2 separate regions of the Homo sapiens genome follow, and region 2 is linked to region 1. The links are contacts of gene promoters, found by promoter capture Hi-C in human tissues and cell types (Jung and others, 2019). All regions are on one chromosome and are shown on one strand. Each heading gives the region's core, a stretch centred on a gene start or on the middle of the fragment in contact. The rest is flanking DNA. Distances are from core to core; before and after follow the strand shown.

Region 1 (2,871 bases), core at 280-2,779:
GGAGGAGATGGGAAGGGGGGACCAGGGCGTGGGTCCAGCCTCGTTGCAGGAATCACAGCCTGTCTGGGTCATGTGTGGGATGCGCCAAGCGCATGCATGCACCCGGGGATTCCTACACAGCCCTCCCTGGGCCGGGGGTAGAGGCAGGGACCCCGGCCCATCCCGGCCTTGAGGTCTGACCTTGTGTGATCGGCAACACCAGATACGCCCAGCTCCTCGGCAAGGCCGGCAGGCCATCAGCAGGACTGGGAAGGCGGGAGGGACCGGGGGTTACCGGGGAGACACAAAGGGGCCGGGGGCAGGTGCAGAAGGAGACGAGAACCCAGTTACACAACAACCACAGGACAATGAACTGGATGGTGAGGTGCTAATGGGGACACTGAGGCACAGACATTTCTCAGATTTGGGTCACTTGAACCAAAGAAGGTTGGCAGTCACCCTGGCCGTGCTTGTCACAGACGGGGAAGATGAGTCCAGGTCAGTGATCCCCACCAGGTGGCACAAGGGGAATCTGGCTGGGCGGGAGGCTGGTGCCAGTCACGTGTGTGTGTTAGCAGGGTGGGGGTGACCCAGCCATGCCCAGCCACCATGCAAAAAAGTAGGATTCTATATATGGGAGCATCCCTGGCCTGTTGACTGAGACACTCCCCACCCAGGAGAAGGTTCCACCTGACAGCCCAAGGGTGGGAGTGGGGGTCCCCATTCCCCCGACCTAATGCAGTGACTCGGGTACTTCCGCCAACAGGTGCCAATCTGGGTGGCGTCTGGAACATCATAAAGCTGTCTAGAGGCGGGGGTGGCTGGAGCTTTGTTATGCGGGGGAAGGGCACGGGCCGGGCCCAGCAGCCTCCTCCCCTCCCAGGGCACTGCGCCAGGCACGTGCCCCAGGTGGAGCGGCACCTGCCGGGTACCCAACCCTGGGGAGGGGGATGAGTTTGGGGGCGGACGAGAGGCACTGGGACGCCCAGCCAGCCACAGACACCCGAAGTAGAGCCTCCGCCGCGCCCCTTCTAGTTCTCCAGGAGAGGCCGAGTTTGAGGGTGTAGCAGGGGTTGCCTCCGGGATCGCCCCCAAACCAGCCCAGTCCACATCGCCACCTGCCGAGAAGGGGGCCTCGCTGGCTCCACAGTCCCGGCCCAGGGAGGGGGCGCCGGGCGCTCCGGAGGCCCCCGCCCTTGCCATCGTCACCCGAGTCCCGTTCCGGGGGCTGGGGGGGCTCCCCCGGCAGCGCGCGGGCGGGGTCCGCCGGCGCCGTCCGGTCGCCCCGGGACTCCAGACGCAGGTGCGCCTACCTGCACGGCGTCGCTGGCCATGTCCTCCTGCCGCCCGCCAGGGGTCCCCGCGCGGAGGGAGGGGCGGCCAGAGGAGCGCGCGTGCGCCCCGGGCGTGGCGGGGAGGGGGCGGGCGCGGCGCGACCCTCCCCGGCGCGCGGCCCGCTCCGGCCTGCTCGGCTCCCGCCTCGCCTGGCCAGGCCGCCGCGTCCCCGCGCCGCGCCCTCCGGCCCCAGCGGCCGCCGGGCCTGGTCACGTGACCCCGGAGGTCGGCGCCCGGGGAGGGGGCGGGGCCGAGGGGGGACGGGTTCCCAGAGGCCCCCGGGGCTGCGGGGTCCCGCCCGTCCGCCCCCTCGGTCTCCCGAGCCCGGAGCATCCCCATCGGCTCCCCACCTTTCCTCTTTCCGGGTCCCGAGACGACCGCACGCTGCCGAGGGGTCCCCCATTGGAGCGCGCGGGAACCCGAGGAGAACGGTTCCACGCGTTCAAGCCGAGAGCGGCGGAGGCCTTTGGGCCTCCCGGGACCCCTGAAAAAAACAAACAGAATAACCCCCCACCCCACCCTACCCCGGTGCATTTGCAAGCTCGGGACGCCTGCATCTGTGGTCCCCTATTCAAGGGCATGGAAGTTTCCCCGTTACCTGGAGACAAGCTCTGGGCGGATCTGCATTCAAATCCTAGCGCTTTACGCCTTGAGGGAGACAAACCCTTCCAGGCACCTCATCTGTGAAATGGGAATGATGCGCTCACCTCCTCGGTGTTGGTAAAATTCAATAAGACAGTGCAGGCCAAGAGCTGAGAACACACTAGACGCTCCATAAGTGTTAGCTGCTGTCACTTTTAATGTTATCGTAATTGTTTGTTTGTTGTTTTGCTATTTTTGGACGGAGTTTCGCTCTGTTGCCCATGCTGGAGTGCAGTGGCGCGATCTCGGCTCACTGCAACCTCCGCCTCCCGGATTCAAGTGATTCTTCTGCCTCAGCCTCCTGAGTAGCTGGGATTACAGGTGCCCACCACCATACCCGGCTAATTTTTGTATTTTTAGTAGAGACGGGGTTTCATCATATTGGCCAGGCTGGCCTCGAACTCCTGATCTCAGGTGATCCGCCCGCCTCGGTCTCCTAAAGTGCTGAGATTACACAGGCCTGAGCCACCGCGCCCAGCCTCTATTATCGTTATTGTTATTAAAAGAGGTTTGAATCCCAACTTGCTGTTCATCCTGGGGACCCCTGTGGCCTCTGAGTCTCAGTTTTCCCCGCTATAAAATGGGCATCGCCTTCTTTTTCGGGGCTGCTGCATGCAGATGGCGCTCCATAAATGCAGACTCGTGCCCAAGCGGAGAGTGGAGGCCTCTGCGGAATTTCTAGGGGATCTCCGGGGTCTGCAGAGCGTGCAGCTTTGTTCGTGGCCGCCGTCGGACCCTCACTCCTTCGGAAACCAGGCGAGGGAGCCAAACCTTGGTCTCCGGGGCTCCGGCAGGGAGCGCTCCCTGGCGGCGGTGCCTGCACATTGGCGCCCTTTGGGACCCGAGGAAGCGCCGTGGGCTGCGGGTACCTTGGTTACCCGTGGCTCTGCGTGGTTTCAGTCGTCCCAGAAACCA
Region 2 (2,811 bases), core at 154-2,653, 38 kb after region 1:
AGATTCCCCTTCTTAGAACTGGAAGTGACACCTTCTTCCACTCGCACGTGACAGATGAGGAAGGGGTGAGGTCTGGGGGCCCACAAGGGCACTCCAGCCCTGAAGGCCCTGCCGCCTCCCTGCCGTGTGGCAGGACCTTCCTGGGAGGTGAATCCTTAGGCAGGGGCTTAGCAGGTCCTTGACCTTGTGGGAACCTGCGGATCTTCCCCCTCCTCCTCGGCTGCTTTGGAGGACGTGCCTCAGCTCCATCCCCAGCTCCCGTCCAGCCTCACGGCGTCTTCCTGGGGCCTCTACCTGTGCAGACCTTCGGATCCTCAGGTATGAACTTGAAGCCAGGCAGGCACTGGCAGGTATAGCTGCCAAGGGTGTTGACGCAGGTGCCGTAGCTTTTACAGAGCCTTGGGTTCTGCTGACATTCGTCCACATCTGCAAGAGGAAGGAGAGGGTGAAGGATGCCCGTAGCTGTGAGCAGCTTTCAGGGCTGAGGGTCCGCCATGTTTCCTGGCACGGAAGCATCTGGAAGGCACCACTGTCTCCTCCCTTTTCCAATCCACACAGAGGCATCCTATGGTGAGGGTGGTGGCTCAGTCCTTCTGTTGTCCAGATGTGGCTGGAAGCAGCCAAGTCCTCCCCTTCTCCTCTGCCTTCCTGGGCAGCTCCAAGCTGGGGTGTCCCAGCCATCTGTGTCCCAGCCTAAGGATTCCGGGCAAAGGCCAGGGTGGGGCCTTCCTGAGAACCAAATGCAGGGGACATGCCGTGCGCCTGGGCAGGACACGTCTTGGTTCCCAACGGTGGCCCTCGGCCTGACTCCCACAGAACGGCCGCTCGCTGGCCAAATTCTCAGCATCCTGGTGGCCCTAGCAGGATGCTGCTCTCCCATCCACACTAGCTCTGAGAGCCCAGCTTCATGGGCATGGACCAAGACCCCTCCCTAAGCCAGTGCCCCCGCGATGCAGGGCAATAGCAGGGGTGGGGAGAGTGCGGGATGATGTGGGACAGGCTAGGGCTGCCCGGACAGTGGGCACCAGGCTGGGGTGAACAGTGGGGGCTGATGTCCAGCCAGGCAGCCCCGAGTCTACAAAGATGCTTTTTTCTGATCCCCAGGAAAGGATCTATGGATATGGAAATAGCAGGATTTGGTGAGAATCCATATCTAAGCAGAACTGGCCGTGAGCGGGGGCCTGTGGCTAGAGAGGGCACAGGTGCCGATGGGTGAGGGGTGGCAGATGTATCTGTCCTCTCATCCCTTGTCATTCCACCAGGGACAGAGACCTGTGGGCCCTGCTGAATGGGGTTCAAGCTTCCATCTCTGTCCTTGAGTGGTCCAGACCAGGACTGACTACAGGAGAGGATCGGGCCTGGGACGATGGTCCCCAGTGATGCTGTCTCTTGCCGGCTAGTCCAGGCTGGAGCCGCCTCCTTCATCCAACCCTCTGAGTGCGTTTTTGTTTTTTTTTTTTTTTTTTGGAGACAGCGTCTCTCTCTGTTGCCCAGGCTGGAGTGCAATGATGTGATCTCAGCTCACTGCGACCTCTGCCTCCCGGGTTCAAGCGATTCCCCTGCCTCAGCCTCCTGAGTAGCTGGGATTACAGGTGCGTGCCACTGCGCCCGGCTAATTTTTGTATTTTTAGTACAGACAGGGTTGCACCATGTTGGTCAGGCTGCTCTCGAATTCCCGACCTCAAGTGATCCTTCCACCTTGGCCTCCCAAAGTGCTGGGATTCCAGGCATGAGTCACGGCACCCAGCCCTCTGAATCCATTTGTGGGGTCCACATCACGCTGCCCACACCTGGCCACAGCATCCTCCCAAGCTTTGGTCATTGACGGTGCGTTCAGGCCCAGGAATTACCAGGGTGGGTTAGGGTGGAGCCTTGGATGGGGAAATGGATGAGGGCTAAACGGCCAGAAAGGTGGTCGGGAGGCATCTTCTCCAAGCAAGGCTGCTGGCTGGAGACAGTTGTCCTGTCCTTGAGATTCCCTCCTCCTGAGTTTCTGGACAGGGTTTTGGGGTTCATTATGGTAGGTGTGGGTGTCAGAGGGGTTCCAGGTGTGGCTGAGCTCATGGGAGCCCCGGTGGCAGCAAGTCTCATCCTGGCAGTCCCCGGCGATGGCGGAGAGGATGGATACTGTACTGGAATGCGCCACCACACGCCATGTCATGAGCCCATGAAATATCCTGAGTGCCAGCCCCCTTTTGTTTTATGCAAATAAGATGCCAGATGGGCAGGGGGATGTTCCGAGCTTCCAAAGTGGCCTCCTGTGGAGTGTCCCGAGTCTCAGGGTTGGGACAAAGACGGGTGATCAGGGGTTTAGGATGGCCCTGAGATGCCTGGAGACAGGGGGGTGAGGAGTGGAGGGAGCCGCCCGAGGTCTCTGGCCTGGATGTCACAGGCCCCATGGGCTGTGACACTGGGTGCACGTGTCCTCAGGTGCAATAGCGAAGCCTGGAGTGCCTTGGGTTAAAGGGAGGGGCCCAGGCCCCTCTGAGCGTCTCACCTCTGGTCATAGGTCCTGCTCCAAACCAGCAGGCTGTTGGCTCCATCACCTGCTTTGATGTCCGTGGAGGTCCCTCTTATCACCTCAGCCCTGCTGTCCATGTCTCTGCCCAGCTGCCTGACTGAGTCCCCTTCTCTCAGCCCAGGCCTGTTTCTAACACAGCAACACACCTCCTTCATAACCACAACCACCATCCCATGCAGGGGGTTCATAGCAGTGGGTGGGCGGCACCCCTAGCCAGAGCACCCTGGGAGGAAACCATGATCACCAAGTACAGCTGTGCAGGTTGCTCACTGCACAGGTATTGGGCCAAT

The links. The method cuts DNA at HindIII sites, captures the fragments that hold promoters and counts their contacts. A contact is called where the count stands out against the background at its distance.
Region 2: a fragment that was not itself captured here is called in contact with the fragment with the promoter of PKN1 in region 1 in 1 of the 25 tissues and cell types used here (spleen).

The regions. Positions count from the first base shown.
Region 1 is chr19:14,431,964-14,434,834 of GRCh38, reverse strand. It overlaps PKN1 (protein kinase N1), which reads right to left and starts at 1,529. Exons shown (of 22, transcript NM_002741.5): 1 at 1,293-1,529. The coding sequence starts at 1,313. RefSeq lists silencers at 800-909, 1,200-1,269, 1,440-1,779 and enhancers at 489-1,061, 1,062-1,635, 2,510-2,789. The HindIII fragment of the contact is 61,187 bases long and covers 1-2,871 here.
Region 2 is chr19:14,393,957-14,396,767 of GRCh38, reverse strand. It overlaps ADGRE5 (adhesion G protein-coupled receptor E5), which reads right to left. Exons shown (of 20, transcript NM_078481.4): 5 at 295-426. Among named protein-coding and RNA genes, the nearest start is that of ADGRE5, 14 kb to the right of the region's middle. RefSeq lists an enhancer at 1-332. The HindIII fragment of the contact is 4,012 bases long and covers 1-2,811 here.